Regions from separate parts of the Homo sapiens genome. Here regions 1, 2, 3, 4, 5 and 7 are each linked to region 6. The links are contacts of gene promoters, found by promoter capture Hi-C in blood cells and fetal thymus (Javierre and others, 2016). All regions are on one chromosome and are shown on one strand. Each heading gives the region's core, a stretch centred on a gene start or on the middle of the fragment in contact. The rest is flanking DNA. Distances are from core to core; before and after follow the strand shown.

Evidence for each region. Contacts are between HindIII fragments. The CHiCAGO score rates a contact against its expected background, and 5 or more counts as called.
Region 1: a contact is called between the fragment with the promoter of ORC5 here and the fragment with the promoter of THAP5 in region 6, in 1 of 17 cell types (total CD4 T cells). The highest score is 5.6, in total CD4 T cells.
Region 2: a fragment that was not itself captured here is called in contact with the fragment with the promoter of THAP5 in region 6 in 8 of 17 cell types (total CD4 T cells, non-activated CD4 T cells, activated CD4 T cells and 5 more); the score reaches 17.9 in total CD4 T cells.
Region 3: a contact is called between a fragment that was not itself captured here and the fragment with the promoter of THAP5 in region 6, in 1 of 17 cell types (activated CD4 T cells). The highest score is 5.0, in activated CD4 T cells.
Region 4: a contact is called between a fragment that was not itself captured here and the fragment with the promoter of THAP5 in region 6, in 4 of 17 cell types (total CD4 T cells, activated CD4 T cells, non-activated CD4 T cells and 1 more). The highest score is 14.5, in total CD4 T cells.
Region 5: a contact is called between a fragment that was not itself captured here and the fragment with the promoter of THAP5 in region 6, in 2 of 17 cell types (total CD4 T cells and non-activated CD4 T cells). The highest score is 11.0, in total CD4 T cells.
Region 7: a fragment that was not itself captured here is called in contact with the fragment with the promoter of THAP5 in region 6 in 4 of 17 cell types (non-activated CD4 T cells, total CD4 T cells, activated CD4 T cells and 1 more); the score reaches 11.4 in non-activated CD4 T cells.

Annotation. Positions count from the first base shown.
Region 1 is chr7:104,206,714-104,209,413 of GRCh38, forward strand. ORC5 (origin recognition complex subunit 5) reads right to left here and starts at 1,300. Exons shown (of 14, transcript NM_002553.4): 1 at 1,120-1,300. The coding sequence starts at 1,191. RefSeq lists enhancers at 959-1,148, 1,189-1,268, 1,319-1,478. The HindIII fragment of the contact is 7,936 bases long and covers 1-1,816 here.
Region 2 is chr7:112,928,495-112,931,194 of GRCh38, forward strand. All of the region lies in intron 1 of SAMTOR (S-adenosylmethionine sensor upstream of mTORC1), which reads right to left. Among named protein-coding and RNA genes, the nearest start is that of SAMTOR, 10 kb to the right of the region's middle. The HindIII fragment of the contact is 1,905 bases long and covers 304-2,208 here.
Region 3 is chr7:112,810,599-112,813,298 of GRCh38, forward strand. No RefSeq gene overlaps it. Among named protein-coding and RNA genes, the nearest start is that of TMEM168, 22 kb to the left of the region's middle. The HindIII fragment of the contact is 1,014 bases long and covers 765-1,778 here.
Region 4 is chr7:113,105,273-113,107,972 of GRCh38, forward strand. It overlaps LOC107986837, which reads left to right. Exons shown (of 4, transcript XM_047421162.1): 2 at 2,483-2,527. Among named protein-coding and RNA genes, the nearest start is that of SMIM30, 12 kb to the right of the region's middle. The HindIII fragment of the contact is 1,672 bases long and covers 589-2,260 here.
Region 5 is chr7:112,954,018-112,956,717 of GRCh38, forward strand. HRAT17 (heart tissue-associated transcript 17) reads right to left here. Exons shown (of 6, transcript NR_110162.1): 5 at 2,505-2,685; 6 at 618-751. Among named protein-coding and RNA genes, the nearest start is that of SAMTOR, 15 kb to the left of the region's middle. The HindIII fragment of the contact is 1,298 bases long and covers 717-2,014 here.
Region 6 is chr7:108,568,423-108,571,122 of GRCh38, forward strand. It overlaps THAP5 (THAP domain containing 5), which reads right to left and starts at 1,284. Exons shown (of 3, transcript NM_001130475.3): 1 at 1,068-1,284. The coding sequence starts at 1,147. DNAJB9 (DnaJ heat shock protein family (Hsp40) member B9) reads left to right here and starts at 1,452. Exons shown (of 3, transcript NM_012328.3): 1 at 1,452-1,681. RefSeq lists enhancers at 867-1,346, 880-1,607. The HindIII fragment of the contact is 6,219 bases long and covers 341-2,700 here.
Region 7 is chr7:113,128,868-113,131,567 of GRCh38, forward strand. The region is part of intron 2 of LOC107986837; the gene reads left to right. Among named protein-coding and RNA genes, the nearest start is that of SMIM30, 12 kb to the left of the region's middle. The HindIII fragment of the contact is 415 bases long and covers 1,159-1,573 here.

The sequences.
Region 1 (2,700 bases), core at 50-2,549, 4.4 Mb before region 6:
GTACATTCAAAGATGGACCACATATACAACAGTGATCTCATAAGATTATAATACCCTATTTTCACTGTACCTTTTCTATGTTTAGACACTTTTAGATGCAGACTTATCACTGTGTTACAACTGCCTACAGTATTCAGTATAGTAGCACCGCTGTAGAGGTTTATAGCCTAGGAGGAACAGGCTACACCATACAGCCTAGGTGTATAGCAGGCTACACCATCTAGGTTTGTGTAAATACACTTTCTGATATTCACAGGGATTAAATTGCCTAACGATGCATTTCTCAGGACGTATCCCCCTCACTAAGTGGCAGCAACGCATGACTGTACTTAAAAAAGCAAACCAGAAGATGGGGGTATGAGTATGACCCTGAATTCTCATTCACTCTCTTCGCAGGTAAGATCCAAGTTTGATTAATTCCAATTCTGATTGAGTCTGAATCAAAAAGCACATCAAAGACCACCAGAAAATAGTCAAAAATAGGTTAAATTTTGAATTGGTGAACGCTACCCTCTGCCTATTGAAAGGACTCCCTACGTATCTATGTTCATCCAGACAAGACAAACTCCTCTCTAGGGCATCCTGTGAACTATCAGTTAAGGAGAAAAGTTTACCCTAGACCTCTTCTGGACTGTTACAATTCTGGAAAAGCCAGTAAATTTTTAAACCTGAAGCACTGCTTTGGCCCTTAGTGGCCTTGAAAGCAACCACCTCTCTACACTTGACTCACTCCAACTACCGCACAGAAACGTGTGAACTTACATTTGAATAAATAACACCCTGCAAACACATCTGTTACATAAATGTCATTGGGTTGGGGTAAGATAACAAGCAACTTCTAGGAGCTAATGTGGGCAAACTTCTGAAAAGTGTGGCGTGTTTCAAATACGTCTTAGGCAACGTCCTATAGTGCAGGCCGGTCGCTCTCAGACTGTCTCCTCTTCAATATTCGGAAGAGACTGTGGGTGAAGCTGCAGTACAGAACCACAACACCCCTATTTAACGTAAAAACGGCCTTTTGGCCCTCAATCCAAACACGAAAAAACAAATATTGGAACAGGTCGCAAGACTACCGAAACGTCTGCCTCCAGGATCTGGAAGACAGTTTAACTACAATACCTCTCCAAACAAGGACTGCAAGATGGACACTTGAGACTCGCGACAAAGCACCACGTTTTCCAAGTGGGGCATTCTGGCAGGCACCACCGCAGAGGCCAGTGCAGCCAGCCCACAGGACCCTTGCACAAGACGGAGCCTCTCCCGAGTCTGGCGGCCCACGCTCCCGCCGGAAACCGGACCCGCAGCGTCGTGGGAGGAGCCTGCGCTGCCGGGCTGCGGCGTGACGGCAGCGCGTACGCCGAGCGTCGCCGCCGCTCTAGTCTCAGGGCCGGAACCATCCTCTTCTCGCTGGTCCTGTGCGCGCCGAGGTTTTGCCCATTCTTGGGCTTGGTGGGGATTTCGGGCTGACGCTTTTTCCACTCAAAGGCTAAGGAGACGACATGGAGATGGGCGAATAGGGAAGGGGTGGAAGGGGTTAAGGGGGTCCCGTGGGCCTCCAATGACCCCTGAACCCCGTGCCTTTAGTTTTACCGGCTGGAAGCCCCAAGTTTAGAAACCTTGAGTGCCTAAGAAGACGGACCCGGAGCTGGGGCCCTTAGAGGGACGTGGAAGGCGGACTTAGAAGACTAATATTGTCAAAAGATGTTTTTGTTGTCGTTTTTTTCCCTGACGACGTTGTGGGAAATTAGTGGCATTGAGTACAAAACAGGGTGTAATGGGGTTTAATGCACAGCTTGGAATTACTATTTTTTGTGCAAGCTTTAAACCAGATGTGGAAAGCCTCTCAGTCCTAATGGGATGAAGTCGTAGTGTGTGTTGGTGAGGTTGATAGTAAAAATAATGCTACTTTTAGCATTAGGCTTTCACGTGTATTTATTTGTGAGGCACCTACTAGCGACTAAACACTAGAAGATTCTGGAAATAAGATACAGAAGTAGGCAAGTGCATGGTGGAAAGAGAGCTTGGCGTCCTGAAACCCCTGGGTTGGGACCACTGACTGACTCAACTGCTGAATAGGGGGACTTTGGAATAGTTGAGCCTCAACTTCCTTATCTATAAAATAGGGATAATACTGGCTAGGTTATTGCTAGGAGTAGAAGATCCTGTACATACTACCTGTTATACATAAATTTAAATTGTGGACTTCAATCTGCCCATAGATTGTAGATCAGTCTTAGATTTGTGATGGTCAAAAGGATCTTTTGAGAGTTGTGGTATATAACGTATTAGCTAGTCAAAATAGTATTTTCACAGCAACAATTCAAAAGCATTTGCCCAGGTACTTTTTAATAGAGAATTCTAAAGGTTATAATGGGACCACCCATTAAATTTCAATGTCTCCAAGGGAAGCTGGCCTCTGATACTCTCCTAAGATGGTTATACGTCCGTAACATACTGTGCATATAAGGTATACATATATTATAATCATAACACGACATCTTTATAGCATTCAATAAAACTGACTAAACTGTCTAAAATGTTAGTCTCCCTCTCTATATACTTTATGAGGACAGGAAACACTGTCTTCACAGTTCAATTTCCAGCATACACAGTTAACGCCTGGCAGTTACATAATAAAGATAATTGTTGATCTGAGAGAACATGCCTTACCATCTGGATGATTTAGGATGGTTTCTCAGA
Region 2 (2,700 bases), core at 6-2,505, 4.4 Mb after region 6:
AAAAGCAAAGACTACTTTTGATTTACAATTTGTATAAATTAGAGAAGTTAATTAGGGTGCTCAGTCAGTGGAGGACAAAATATTTAAATTTTCATCATGCTCAAAAAATAAACATGAAAAGTATAAACAAATTAAATTAGTTGCTAAGATAAAATTCAAACTACAGAGGATGGCTTTCAATAAATAGCAGTCACTCAAAAGCAGAATTTAAATTTTTCACAATAGTTACTGTTTTCAAAGTAAGAGTTCCAAGGTCAGAAAAGCAATAATTTCAATGTCATTTTTCTAGAGACCATTGTTTTAAGCTTATTAAAAAGGCTTTTTCATTTTGTGTTATTGTCAAAAGAAAACCTTGCAGCTGACAGTCCAGTCATATCCATTAAGTTCTTTAATAGCAGTACACAGATCTTTTCGAAAAATTTATTAGCTCAAGGAGAAATGAACAGTAACACCACCAAATAGATAAAGAATTACTTATATGTGAAAAAAATGAATAGGTGGTGCTAAGGTTCATGCATTTTTACATGCCAGGACCACTTGATTTTTATATACTTGATGTGTATAAAAATAATATTTTTTCTCAATAACTCTATCCTAATTCTCCTTTTTAAAACATACAAAGCACAGAAAATAAGTTAGCAAGTATATATGTGATGCCATTTTAAGATAAAAATATATTTACAAACCATATACCTGATAAGGGGTTAATATCCAAAAGATATATAAAAAAAACCTCAAACTGAATAGCAAAAAAACAAATAATCTGACTAAAAAATGGGCAATGACCTGAATAGATATTTTTCCAAAGACAACACAAAAAATGGCCAATGGGTATATAGAAGGGTGCTCAACAAAACTAATCATCAGGAAAATGCAAATTAAAACCACAATAAGATACTACCTCCCATCTGTTAGGATGGCTATTATCAAAAAGACCAGAGATAACAAGCATTGGTGAGGATGTGAAGAAAAGTGAATCCTGTATACTTATGTTGGGTATGTAAATTAGTACAGCCAAAACAGTATGGAGGTTCCTAAAAAAATTAAAAATAAAACTACTACATGATTCAGCAATCCCACTATGGGTATTTATCCAAAGGAAATGAAATCAGTATGTCAAAGAGATATCTGCAATCCTATAATCATTGCAGCATTACTCACAATAGCTAAGAAACGAAAATAAATGGAGGTGAATCTATAGTGAAAAGACATGTGAGACTGAGAGTATAGAGAGAGACCGACTGCAAAGAAGTATGAGAAAATTTTGGCAGTGATGAAAATGTTCTACGCCTTATTGTGGTAATGGTTTTACAGAGATGCATGCATTGTCAAAACTTACGGAATTATATACTTTAAAAAGACACAATTTACTGTACATGAATCATATCTCAATAAATTTAATTTTTAAAAATGATGTGCCACAAGCATGGTATATGTTACAAAATTAAGATTATATTTCATTAAATTTGAGGGCCATCAAATTCTCTAAAAAAGCAAAAAAATACATGAGTATCAAAAGTCTTAAACTTTTAGAAATTCAGAACAATTTATTTGATTCTGACTTAGGCATATTGCCAAATACGGGCCCTAAGATGCCTTATCTGTAGATGACAAGACTACCAAATTCAAGTTCAAAGTACCTTTAATGGTCATTTTCTCTAACACAAGGTAAGTAAAGAAACTCATGACTAAGTGCAAACAAGTTCAGCTACCATTTCAAGGCATTAAAACAAAATGTTCAGAATTCAGATTGTCTTACATAGTTAAGCCATACAACGACCAGTCTTCTCAGCTCTTGAGCACCTGATACAGTGACACATCTAAAAGTGGGATAAAAAACATCCAAGGTGTTTGGTAATTAAGAGCCAAAAAGTAACCAGAAAACAAAAAGTTTGAAAACCTGCATCTTATAGCCAACATGTTATGAATAGTCATTTCTCTAATGTGGGAAGAAAACACCACCAATATTCTGACATGCTAAAAAGGTTGGACTTTTCATATAAAAACTTAGAAACACAAACAGCAAAAGGGGCAAAAAAAAAAAAAAGAAGAAAAAGAAAAAGTCATTTTAATACTGAGAAGACTACAGAACAGTCTAGGTAAAAATTCCAGGAGCCATCCAGTCTTTAATGTCATAGTCCTTAAATGCATTGAAGCAGTATAGCTACAGATAAAAGAGCTGTTATTTTTAAATTTCTGTATTTTACAAGCTTAGTGTGTTTCCTATATGCCAAATGTTGTTTTAAGTGCTTTTCAAATATTAACTCATTTAATTATAATACCAATCCATTGAGGCAGATATTTTACTTTATAGATGAGGAAACTGAAGTAGAGCGATTAAGTAAACTTTTCCAAGGTTACACAACAAACCTGGTAGTCAAAAGCTAAAGTCATGCTCCTAACCACAAACTTTGCTTCTCTTCATAAGTTTTTAATTCATGAACTTTCATGGATATGAGCAAAGCTTTGCAACAGAGGAAAGTACACAGACTCTACTAACCACAAACAAATGGTCTTTTGTCAGTCAAATGCAGTTATTTAGTCTCTGCAACTGCATTATTTGTTAGATTTCTGGCAGTGGTTCTCAACTCTGGCTGCCAATTCTGGCTGCACATTGGAATCACCCAGAAGTTTCATTTAACTGGTCTGGAGTGGCAACTGGTCATTTAGTTTAACACTCCCCGGATGAATCCAACGTGT
Region 3 (2,700 bases), core at 22-2,521, 4.2 Mb after region 6:
TCTCAAAGATTCACTTTCCTCACTAGTAAAATGGTAAGTAAAATCCTCACTTATTTTATAGTGAGGAAATGTTTGTAGAGTGCTTAGCACAATACTGGATAGGCAATCGTCGCTTTATGTTAGTAAGTTATGAAGATAAAAAATGTTATTTAGAATCAAATGGTATTTTATAAAAATGTTACTTTTTCTGTTGCTCCTGTTGTAATTTTTTAGGCTGTTGTCATGTCAAAAGGGGATACTAAGTTTCCAATCTGTTCTTGAGTATACAGTAATGCGGTCAATAACTTTAGTTGGTGCCTCCAACAAGTATTATCCGTGGATGAGGTTACATCTGGGTACTTTGGAATATGATAGAAGCAACATCTGGTGTGCTTTTATACAGCTCATGAAGTCAGTGCTTTAGAAACTGAATTAAAATGTTTCAAGGGTTTTCTTCCTATTTAATGCTGTGATGTTGCTAATCCCGTCCTCCTCTTAAAGCTGGTGATCCTCCTCACATTAACGGCCATTGATATAGTTTGGATAATTGTCCTCACTCAAATCTCATGTTGAAATGTAATCCTCAGTGTTAGAGGTGGGGCCTTGTGGGAGGTGTTTGGGTTATGGGAGTGGATTCCTCATGGCTTGGTGCCTTCCTCTGGGTAGCGAGTTCATTTTCACGAGATCTGGTTGTTCAAAGTGCATGGCACCTCCCCTACTCTCCCTTGCTCCTGCCTTCAGCATGTGAAGTGCCTGCTCCTGCTTTGCCTTCTGCCACAAGTAAAAGCTTCCTGAGGCCTCTCCAGAAGCAGATGCCAGCACTATGCTTCCTGTACAGCCTGCAGAAGCATGAGCCAATTAAACCTCTTTTCTTATAAATTACCCAGTCTTGAGTATAGCAATGCAAGAGTGGCCTAACACAGCCATCCTTGATATTTATGGAACCCTCTCAGGCTTAATAGTTGACTCAAGCACAATGAATAAGTGGTCCCCTGTCTTTGTGAATTCATAGATAAAAAGACAAGACAATCTTGTGTTGTGACTTGTTTTGTAGTTTCCATTGAAATCTTGTAGGGTAGGTTGTAGTGAAGTGTGTATCTTACATCATTTTCTGGGAATTCATAGGGAAGAAAAATTGAAGATAAGAAAATTTAACACTGATTTTCTTGCTCAATATGGTTCTAAGGAGTTGATATCAGATTTTGAATTGGGTGGTGATGGTGGAGATGAAACAGTGAATGTGTGCAGACCAGGCAAGACTGAATGAAGAGAAGGAATGGGGCTATAAAAGACACTTTGCCAAAATAAATAATAGTCACTATATGTCATATCCCTACTATGTGACAAGATTGTTATCTGCTTTATAGACATCATTTTCAAACCTATCGATAACCTTGCAAAGTGAATTTTTTGGATAAACAGGCCCTGAGGAGAACTTTGCCCCAGTAAGTTTTCATAGGGTTGGTGATGCAAATCTTTCTGGATACAAAAGCCAGTGGAAAGTAGTACAAATCACGTATCCCTTATACGAATAAAGAAACTGCTGGAGTACCACTTCTCTCCTGGGGTTGAAGAGATCATTTAGGTAAATACTCCTTTTAAAGATGTAAAAGCTAATGATGGTTTACAAACTTAAATTCTTACACTAGCAAGGAGTGGGAGCTGGCCATTGGAGAGAGAGTACTGACGGACGTGGTAAGAAAGTAGGATTTCAGGTTTAGATATAATTCATTTTAATGAATGTGTGGGAATACACAGAAGAGAAATTATATGGCTCCAGGTTACTTAGTATTGATCTAAGCTTCAGTTTATACAAACCAATTTAGACTTTCCTGAAGTATAAATTGAGTTATATCTTAATTATGAGAACATATTAATAAACTAATTAATATAAACAGGACTAGACTACCCCAAAAGATTCATAAACTAAGCAGCAGCAGTGGCCCTGTATCATCACAGTTGCATTTTGGAAGGTAAAATTAACCATTTGGAAATATGTATTCCATCACCTTCTTTATGCAAGGTACTTATTTAGGCTGAAGACACAGGACAGAAAAGGGCTTTGCCCATATATACAGATGAACATGGACAAAGATAAACTTCAGATAATTAGAGCTATGCAGAGACTTTATGGTATTGTGAAGAGACAATTTTCGATTATGTGTAATAGGAAGGTGTCCCAGAGGATGTGGCATTTAAGCAGAGATTTGAATAACAAAAACAAACTAGCCATGGAAATAAAATGTAGGAGGAAGAAATTCTAGGCAGAGGGAGTAGCTAGTGCAAAGGTGGTCACATGATGTGTGTGGGTGTGTGTGTTTCCCCCTAGGACTCTAACACAGAAGGTGAAGGAGAGAATGGTGGGAAGTTGCATTGGAGAGGTACGGAGGGGCTGCATCATTTACATTTGGCCCCTTTATGATAAGGGGTATCCATATTAAAGTAAATTGCCTCTAGATGGGTTAAGAACAGTGTGTCATAAAAGTCAAGTGAACAGGTTTCATTTATATGTACCACCAGATGCTGCAGTGCAAGAATGTTTTCTGTAATGTTTGTTTTTATTTTTTGCCTTGTATTAATGCTAGTGTATTTAAGTTTCCACTGTCAGCCCCTGAAGAGCAGAGCAGACATCTGCTCCTTCTAGTACCTAATCCAGTGCCATAGCACAGAAATTCTCAACTAGTGAATCAATATTGATTGGTGTAGACTAGTTAACTATGT
Region 4 (2,700 bases), core at 175-2,674, 4.5 Mb after region 6:
TTATATATTTAAATATATTTATATATATTTATAACTATATATTTATATATAGTTATATATATTTATATATATTTATATATATATATATAAATACAAGATATCCTCCATGTTGGAATAAGGTGTGTGTGTGTGTGTGTGTGTGTGTGTGTGTGTATAATGGAATTCTACTCAGCCATAGGAAAGAAAGAAATGTCTTTTGTAACAGCATGGGTGGAACTGGAGGCCATTATCTTAAGTGAAATGACTCAGAAACAGAAAGCCAAATACCTCATGTTCTCACTTATAAGTGGGAGCTACACATGAACATACAGAGCGGAATCAAAGCCACTGGAGACTCCAGAAGTTGGGAGGATGAGAGGGAGTTGAGGGATGAGAAATTATCTGTTGGGTACAATTTACATCATTCAGGTATTGGTAACACTAAAAGCCTGGGGTTCACCACCATACAAAGTATCAATTTAACAAAACTGCACTTGTGCGCCTTAAATTTATACAAATAAAACAACTGCTATAGCAACCACTTTATGCCAGCATTATCTGGAAAAAACAAAAATATAAACAAACTGGAGATGTCCATCTTTGTACAAAAGCTTGAGTGCTCTTTCCTTGCTTTCATTTTATATTTTTATGGTAATGCTTCTAATCTGAATTTTATTTTAATTCTACTTAATTTTTGTCAGGCTGCCGAAATAGATTATATTTTTTCCTATGATATCTTTTGTTTTGTCATCTAAACCATTTGGGCTTTTTCTGTGGACAGAGTTCTTAAGTCAGACTACAAATGTTTATTGAATGTGTATTGTATTAAATGCTTTATCTTGGGTGTTCAAGAATAATGCAAAGCAGGAAGGACAAGTTTTCTATTTTTAAGAATATTGCTATTAGGCTGGCATGTTTAATTTAATGAACTATAAAGCAAAACTTTAAACTTCTTTTAGGTAGGACCAACTTTTGCTCACATGGTATAATTTTCTATGTATTTTTGGTGCATTGTCCATCCACATCCCTTCTCCCCACTTCTGGTAATTTTATCCTTCATTCTTCTCTCTAAACCCAATATCAGGTGTTTAATCCCACTTTGGAGTTCCATTTGGAGGTTTTTATTTTTAGTTTAATGTGTAGACCCCAAAGTCATATTAGCATTCAGTATCAAGAGCCAGAAGACCTCTAGGCCTGCAAGACCCAGAAGAGGCACCATTAATCAGGTATCACAAAAGTACTGGAGAGTGTATAGAACTTAGGCATTTGTGTTTAGGATGTTTCCTGATGGCTTTCCTTAAGTCATGTCATCTATCAGGAAACTGTTTCTGTAGCTTTTCAAGGCTGGCCCCACTTCTGGGTATTCTGTTTGCCTAAGCCTTCCTTCACCTTGCTCATCTTCCTTCAAAGGGGAATTCTAGTTTTAAGTGCTCAGCAGTGAATGTGTTTGGGGTACACAATTTCTACTTATTTATATTTTTCTTTAAGAAAATGAGTCCCCAAATAACTTGCGAGTGATTCTGCTGGTGCCCTACAGCCTGTTTGCAGCATAGCCAGAACTAGGATTCATATGGTTTTGACTCCTTGTTTAGTGCTCTTTTAATTATGTCACAGACTTTCATAGCCATAAACTTCTGTCACTTTGCAACACCACCGAGGAAAGAAACACTTCTTTGTGTGGTTTGGTACTTATTATTGTAATAATGTTTAATTAATAATATTTCTTGATAGCTATCATTAGTATGGACCACTAATAAAAAATGTAGAGATCACTGGACAAATAATGTTTTAATTTTAATTATGAAAACAATAAGAATAATCTTGAAAATGAATATTGAAGACCATATAATACTTCTTTCACTTAATATGCTGAGTCTTTTTTTGATCCCTCTTATGAACTGCTTATTATAAAAGTGCACAGTGACTCTGAACTTTTTCTCTAACAGGAGATTTGTTACTTTCTCTCCTGGGTTAGAAACTTTTCTTTCCACACCTAGAATTCAGAGTGTCTTTTATAAACCCAGACCTCTAGCATTTCTGGTACAGTAGTATATAGTCACCTCAGTTATCCTCCATGTTGGAAAACTTGCTTCTTTAGAAGATCAGGACAATAGACACATTAGATATATTTTTATGTATATATTTGCAACGGATGAATTATAATGTAAGAATTAATATACAGAAGTCAATTTCTAGGCTGAAACCACAGGTTCAAAGGATATGAATATATTTTTGGTACTTGGTAGAAATTATCTATTTTGCTTATTATAGTATTATAATAAGCTTATTATAGTGTTATCAATAATGACAAGATGTTAAATACCATTGGCATGTCCAGCATTATTAAAGGTATTGTTTTGGAATAAGTAATGGTAAATATAAGGGGTAGAATATTACTTGATTGTTAAAATATCCGTGAAACACTTACATGTTAAACAGACAAACAAAACTAGAAGACAAAATGGTATGCATGTTCCAATCCAGTTTCATTAAATTTATGCAGGTGGAAGATGGCTTGGAAGAGTGAAAACAGTTTTGCTGAGGACAGGTAAGGTATGGGTCATTCTGATATTATCTAATGTTATCTATATATCATTACCATATATACCATATCATTATCTAATGTCATCTATATATCATTACCATATATACTAATTATCTAATGTTATGATTTTTTTAGTTAAAAAGCAATACATTAGATAGTGTAATAACCATTTAATT
Region 5 (2,700 bases), core at 116-2,615, 4.4 Mb after region 6:
GGGTAGTTAGACTTTTTACATGGTGGCAAACTTCTCACAGAGCACAAAAGAGGATACTTCCAGGCCTTTTTCAGGCCAAGTTGGTCTATTATATCTTGAGCAATTCTAATGGACCTTTGCCTAACTTGCCTCTCCTACCTATCATGCCTTTTCCATGCCTTTTTGCTAATCTACATTCTATACTTTCTCAAAGGTCCAGCACAAAGAACACTTCCTTCATGAAAAATTTCTAATTGTTCCGCCTCTGTGTGATAGCTCTTTCCTTTTGAAATCTGGCAACTCCTATTCTTTGTACTATTCACTTCTCATTGAAAATAAGCTGTCATATTATTATTTACTTTCCTATGGATAGCATATCCTATTTCCTCAACCCACTGTATGATCCTTGAGGACACAACCCAAGGTCCGTATCTACATCAAAGTGTCCATCATGTAATATGTGCTAAATAAGTGTTTGATAGCCAGGTCAGCTGGTTGTATACTGAGGCATTTCAGTTCTTTTTAGGAGATGTTATTCTACATGAAGTGATGTACATCTTGAACTTATACAGATGCTTAAAAAAATCTATTTGAGAAGTTATTTACCTGGACTACCAAAGAAGAATTTAAATTATTCATTGTAGGTATAATGAGTTCATATTATTTATTTTATAACATTTGAAATTTTTTTTTAAATTCATGTTTCTTGGTCTTTTTCAGTGACTCAAAGCAGCAGAAGCTTTTTAGGATGTTCAGCATCAATGAGGTAAGCCTAAAAAATGCAAAGATAAAACTAGTTAGCATGGAAATAATGAGTAGAAATGGTTATTAAGCTAATTGTCTTCAGCTGGAGAGAGAACTAGAGGAACTTTAATAGTATTTCTTTTCTGAACCACATTAGCTCTATCAACATAGCGCTGTGATCAACACATTAACTGATTTTGTCTTCTTCTACTCTATATGTCTACTATTATGACTTGGAGAGTAATAAATGTACCATTATAGTGAAGGAGGAAAATTGATGCTGATAGAAACTTAACAAGGAATGGGTTGGGTCTGTAAATCATTGAATACAACCCAAGAATTGTCTTGGCATACACATGTGTCAGTAACTTCAAAAGTAGTTTCTTTTCAGGACTCTACAGTGATTTCACTTTGAAGAAGTTTCTGAACTTTTAACTCAAGGTAATGAGCCAGTTAATAGGAGAGTGGGTTTTGTAGGAAGCAATTACCCCAGTTGATAGGAAACTTGAGAAAATGAGCACAAGTTGTAATGAGATTGGCAAAAATGTCATGTGTCTGAGAGCTGAGATGGAGTAAAAGGGAAAGATGGTGGGAGACAATACCATGAATACCACTGAAAATAAATACCATGAATACCACTGAAAATAAGGATGAGATATATTATTGGAGCTATGTCTACAGAAGGCTATAGAATTAATTTGCCTGCAGGCAAGATGACTTCTAGAAATGTGGAAGTCAGGAGTCCATGGTTCAATTCGAGCTTTTTAATGATCTAGTTTTAGTCCAAACAATATAGTGATAAAATAAATTTTAACAGAATAAACCATTATCTAGCAGTATATACTTCAGTTGACACCGTTTTGGAAAGAGTAGGTCATAGGCATTGCTTCCACTTCCTTGTCTCTCGGTCTAATTTCAGCCCACTGCAACCTGGTTTTCACCCCCGCAACTCTGCGGAAATTGCTTCGAGAAAGGTCAGCAATGATGTGATTGTCAAATATGTTAGCCTCTTTCAGCTCTCATCCTACTTTTCTTTTCTGCAGAATTTGATTGTTTATCATTTCCTTCTTCTTAAAACTCCTTCTTGGCTTCTAAGATGCAGCTCTTATTCTTCCCATGTGTCTCTGTTTGCTCTTTATCTTTCTTTTAGTACCATCTCTTCTGCTGGAATTTTCTGAGCAAACTACTCTCTTTTCTCACTCTACATGAATTTTCTGAATGATCTTATGTGATCCTGAAGCACCAACTATTACCTATGTATCTCTCAAATACTGATTACTCAACATTCTGAAGCTTTGGATCTGACATTGAATGTACTGTAACTTTTCAGGCTCAAGATTGCCCTCTCCAATCTCGTATTTTCTTTTCTTGTTTTCCTTGTCTCAATTCTCAGCAATCCTATCTATCCTATTGCCCAAGCTAGGAATCTTGAAGTATTCATTTCCTTTACACCTTTCCTCACTACTTATATTCAAATATGGTCCATTCAACCTCTGAAATGTGTTCAGTATCTGCCCATGCCTTTCCATTGCTACTATTACTCTCCCAATACAAAAAATAGTCTCTTATTTTTTGCTTGTAACTTTTCTTAATGGTTTTCTCATTGGGCTTACCTCTTTGAATCTGGTTAATCTCCCTTCCAATCTATTATTCATATTGCTGCTGGAGTTCTCTTTTTTAAATGATGGATTTGAGCATGTTCCTTCCATGCCATGCTTAAAACAAAAACAAAAACAAAAACACCTTCCAATAGCTTCACAGTTTGAGAACTGCCTACCTACCTTCTAACAATATTATCTTCTATGAGATCGACGATTCACAGGAATGGGCCTCCAGAAGCCAGCTGCTGATCCATAGGAATGGGCCCCCAGAAGCCATATTTATTCCAAATGTCTCCTCACTCTTCAGCCATAGTTGATTGAAACAGGAGCGAACACTTGAATGGAGTCAATTATTCTCCCCCTATAAAGACTATAA
Region 6 (2,700 bases), core at 34-2,533:
TCAGACTGCCGACCTCAGGTGATCTGCCCGCCTCAGCCTCCCAAAGTGCTGGGATTACAGGCGTGAGCCACCGCGCCTGGTGGGGTTATCAATTTTTTTTCCATTAATTAAAATACTGGAAAGCAGCCGAATCATTAATGAATAAGTCCTTCAGGTCTAAAGTAAAATGAGCACAAAACAACTGCTGAAAATCTGAACCAGGTTAGATCTAAATGAATTGTTTTTAAATACAAGAAAAAATGGAAATGCAGTATTTTAAATATGTTGCTTTTCATGTGTTATTAATCATGTGAGTACTATTAACATCTCCATGTTACAGATGAGATATGTGAGACACCAAAGCTTAAATACTTTCCAAGAGGTCATTAAGCTACAGAATAGTGGAACCAGGATCTAGCATTGAAGCCTGGACCCCTAATTATTATACGACACTGCTTGTCTGTACTTCTGAATAAAAATCAGTGCTTCAGTAGTTTGATGGAAATATATCGTGGCTCTAGTAATTCAGAGTAACAGAATAAAACCTTGTTCTCCGCAGAGTATCTACAGCCCTAAGCAGAAGACTAGTTTATAATTCTGGCTCTGACACTAAACTTTCAAGGTCGGTTACCTAATCATTCCGGGCCTCAGTTTCCTCAGGAGAAAAGTGGGATGAAATTATACCTATGCGACCTACCTCGCGGGGGGTGTAAATTAACTTTGCGTGCACCTTTCCACTTCGCAGGTTTCACGTATCTTAAATGGTGGTTAATGTTGTTCAATGAAATGAGATCACGTGAAGTGGGGAAAAGACTGAAAACCACAGAAGCCCGCGCAAACTTTACTGTTTTAACTGTTAACACCCAAACAGGCTCCTGGGCCTCGCCACCAGCCAGCAGTCCTCGCGCAAGAAGGGCATTGCTAGCTAAACTGAACTAGCGCCTTCCCTCCGTCTTGCCGCGGGCGACGGGCCACGTACGGAGAGCTGAGGACTCACTGGCAGAGCGGACAGGAGACACCCAAGCCCAAAGGCCACAGGTCCAAGGCCTCACGGCGAGGCTGACGCTTCTGCTCCAGAAACAACTTACGGATAAAAACTCAGCTTCCGGTCTTTATTGTTTCGTCCCCGGCGGTTCTTACAACAAATCGCTGCGCAATAGCGGGGCATGACTCGGGTGAGGCCCCTGGAGACCGGGGCCGGCGACGGATGCAGGGCGGCCCTCCTCACTGAGGATGCGCCACAGGTCCAGGCCTCTCGAGCCCCTGCGCCTGCGCTAGCATTCTGCCGGGAAAGCCGCCTCGTCTGTCGACTCACTTCCGCCTCCTCCGGTTTAAGCACCGCCTTTTCGGGGGTTGAAGCCGGAAGTGGCGCACAGCCCTAGCAGCAACAACAGTTTTCCACGTGCGCGTAGGGCGCCGGGATCACGTGGGGAGGCAGAAGCCAATGGGGAAGCGTTTCGTGTAGGTCTTCTGAGGTGGTGGCGCCAGCGGCTACCTCCTGCCTGTGAGGAGCTGGCTGAGAGGGGACTGGGCGCCGGCGGGGAAGGAGGAGCGCTAGGTCGGTGTACGACCGAGATTAGGGTGCGTGCCAGCTCCGGGAGGCCGCGGTGAGGGGCCGGGCCCAAGCTGCCGACCCGAGCCGATCGTCAGGGTCGCCAGCGCCTCAGCTCTGTGGAGGAGCAGCAGTAGTCGGAGGGTGCAGGTGAGGGACGAGGCCGGGGTCGTGGGGAGGGGAGTTCGGAGGGTCCCCGTAGCCCAGGCCTGTCTTTGTGAGCTGACTTGGCCTCGGTGTCCGCCACGGTCGCCGCAGGGACAATGGGCTGCATGTTTTTGGCCGAGAGAATGGAAGAACGGAGACAGCCGCATCACAGAATCGTGTTTTGGGTTGTGGCGCCGGCTTTCACGGGCGCCGGATTAGAGCCCGGGTCTCGGGCAGCTTCTGCGGCGGGGCCTGGGCGGGCAGGGAAAGTGCCAGTCGCCTTTAGGTGAAGGTTGGAGGGTCTAGCCCAGCCGCCCACCGAGGCTGGGGAATAAGGCACGGGCTGCTGGCTGGCGGGGCCGTCTTGGGGATGAGAAGTCTGTACAATACAAAACTAGTCTGCTAAAAAAAAATCATTAGATGTCCACCTTGAGACCGTGGAATAACGTCTGCTGAACCAGTGAGGCGCCTCCCTGTCAGTTTTAGATCCGCCCTTTGACTAGGGAGCAACCTGCAGTTGACGCAGCGTCCATGGGACACACTGTTGTGTTCCTTAAACCGAGAAGTGGTTCTTGATTCTTGGTACCCGTGACTACGAGTAACTCTCTGGAAATAAGTAATCTACCTGCCTGCTAATTACTCTCAGGAAAGGCCGCTGGAGAGGAAGCCAGGCAATTTCCACAAACCGTAGTGTTTTTCGTCAGCCTTATTATGGCATTATAGGTTACTAAGGACTCTGGTGGTCCCGTATTCAAAAAACAGGATCCATCCCTTCGTTTTGAATCTCAAGTCATTGAATACATATTGTCAAGAATTCTAAGTTAACATTTCTTTAATGGTTTAAAGGTAAAAGAAATATTTTAACTACTGAGTTTGTGAAAGTAAGAATCTGCCTTAACCACAGTACAAACTATCAAAGTTCATTTTTCTGGCAGCTTTAGCAGAAATCTTAAATTCTGTTCATCATGAGTTTTAAACAATATTTAGCCATGCTTCCTGGTTAAACATTTGGGATCTTACAT
Region 7 (2,700 bases), core at 116-2,615, 4.6 Mb after region 6:
AATACTGCTTTTTTTCTGTGTGACAACGTCTATGTATATTTAAAAATTATATTGTCTTAAAAGAGAGGCACATCACCATTTTTTCTCTGGGGTTCCCTTTCTATTTAGTTTGTTTTGTGTCCAAATGTTCTAGAAAAGAAGCTTAGGTTTTCATCGGCTTAGAAAAATGAGACCACAGTCAGGTGGACCAACTTATTTAATTTCTACTCTTCAAAGTAGTGCTACTAAAACAACAACAATACTCAAAATCAAGAAGACAAAGCCTCCAAACCTAGAATCCTTTTAGACCCTGTGGATCGAGAAGTGGATGAAATAAAAGAATCGGTTGATTCCTTGGCAACTTTTCATTAACATTCAAAGCAGATTTTAAAAGATTAATTGAGAACATGAAAAATAGATGTTATTGTAACCATTCTTTTTATTTTGGTTAGAAAAGGCCCAACTGGGTTTTTATAAGTTGAACAAAATACATTTCCCATTATCTATGAAAACATGGTAATCTATTATGGATAAATCATTCTTATTATCCTTTTCTTTTTGTGCTCTTTCAATGAGAATTTCTTCTGGACTCTTACCCCTCTTATAATTGGGTAATGATAAAATTAGATAAATTTTAATACCAATGATTTGGCTTCTAAATTTTGTTGCATTTAAATGGAATTGGAGCCATTTAGCATAGATTAAATTCCAGATCTTGTCTCTGTCTCAGTGAATAGGTTCAGATTTCTAATGGAAGACCAAGACTGATATTAGGACCAGCTACTGATAAAGTCAGCAAAACTACTATATGCCACCGTGTTTGCCTTACATAATTATAGAGGTGGGTTTTACATTAGGCTGGCTGAAAGTAGAATTCTGAGATGAAGAGTTATATGTAAAGATTTTTTGAGATGTGCTCTCCAGAACTGCACCTGTGAGGAGATGAGAAAAGGAAGATAGGGTAGAGGGGAAAGCTGACTCACAATGCAACTGAGGTCTTGGGAGAGCTTACAGGGAGCTCTGGAAAGGAGATGTCTCTAAGAATTGTTCCAAATTGAAGCAAAGGGGACTTTATTCCTTGGCGTGTGTTGGGCATTGACTGTGGCTCTCCCCTGAGAAGTATTTAGTGAGGTAGTTGCTTGTAGCCAAGAGCATTTCTCTGTCAGGGTTACATCTGTAAGCTTTTACCAGATGGTATTCCTCAAAGCTGAGGGCAGTAGGCTTTAACCCTGAAGAGGGAACCTGGGTGGATCATCATAGTTCCAACCACGCTTGGTAACGTAGCTCAGCTTTCTGCAGTCTACTATATATGGCATAGAATAGCAGGTTGGCAGGGAGGATTAATAAAAATCCATGTGGATTATGGCTTCTTCTGGAAAGGTTAATTAAAACTGTGCTTACCATACTTGTTACCTCTGTACCATCAAAGCAAGCAGAGAATAGTCATACTTTACCTCTTTTCCCACATGTCACACTCAAAACCATAGCTTAGATACTGTGTTTGAGAGTTGAACCTTAGATGTTTTATTTAAATGATTCTTCTAAATTGGACAGGTATAGTTTATCTTGATGCCAACTGGCTTATACCAGATTAAGCTTTAATATTGTGAAGTCTCCGGTTCATTAAAAAATAGCTATTTAACAACAAAAAAAAAATACTTTGGGAACCCATTTAAGGTAACTCCAAACCTTAAATGGGTTCTAAAGTATTTTTTTTTGTTGTTGTTAAATAGCTGGTTTTGTATTAGTCATTTGAGAAAGTAGTAATACTTCTTTTGATTGAATTTGCTTCTGGTTATCATGCTTGTTTAGATTTAGAGAACAGGAAGCGTGTTAGAGCTGTGTGATGCTCTGCCCTCTTTTAGCTAGGTGGCTACTAGACACTGTGAGAAGGAAGCAGTTGATTACCTTTCAGACTACATGTCACTGGGATGATCCTGCAGCAATAAAGGTTAATTTTTATATTAATAAAACTAGAGAGATCTTTTGGCAACCTCAAGCCTTTGGCTTTCTGGAAAATATAAACCCATTTTTATACTTATGGGACTTGGTTTTAGTGATATCAGGGCCCCTGTCAACCCTTGATCGTGTAGAGTTAACATGGCCTGGGTAGATGTGTTTCCAAGCATTGGAATCTGGGATACAAAGCTGAGTGGTTTAATTTGTTGTTACTATGTTGTATCTTTTCACACAAGTGCTACATCCAACCCAGTCGTGAAACAAAATGATTTGGATTTTCTCATTTTTTCAAAGAATACTTACTGATGTGTTACGGAAGCTAAAAGGGAAAACCAAATTGATGATAATCAATTCCTATGGACATATCAAAGCAGGTAGAGTAGAAGGCATCCTGGAAGAGCTACTATCTGAGAGGAAACCTGTAAGTTAAGTAAGAATTAGCCATATTAATGGCAGAAATATGGCAGGGATGGTTTCTTAGTAAGAGGGGGCAATGGATGGAAAGGCCTCAGAGAAAGAGAGCCTGTCTGTAGTTTATGATAGCTAAAACACAGGCTATTTTCATAAGAATCAGTAAGGAGAAGGGGATTAAGAGGTGAGCAGGGGTCTGATTAGAAAAATATTATATTGTGAGCATATAAGACTTTATCTGGAGAACACAGGGAACCATTGAATTGTCTTCAGCAGAAGAGTACTATGACCAGATTTGCATTTGGAGAGCAGTATAAACAGCAATTGGAGAGACCACAAGGGGAGGCATCA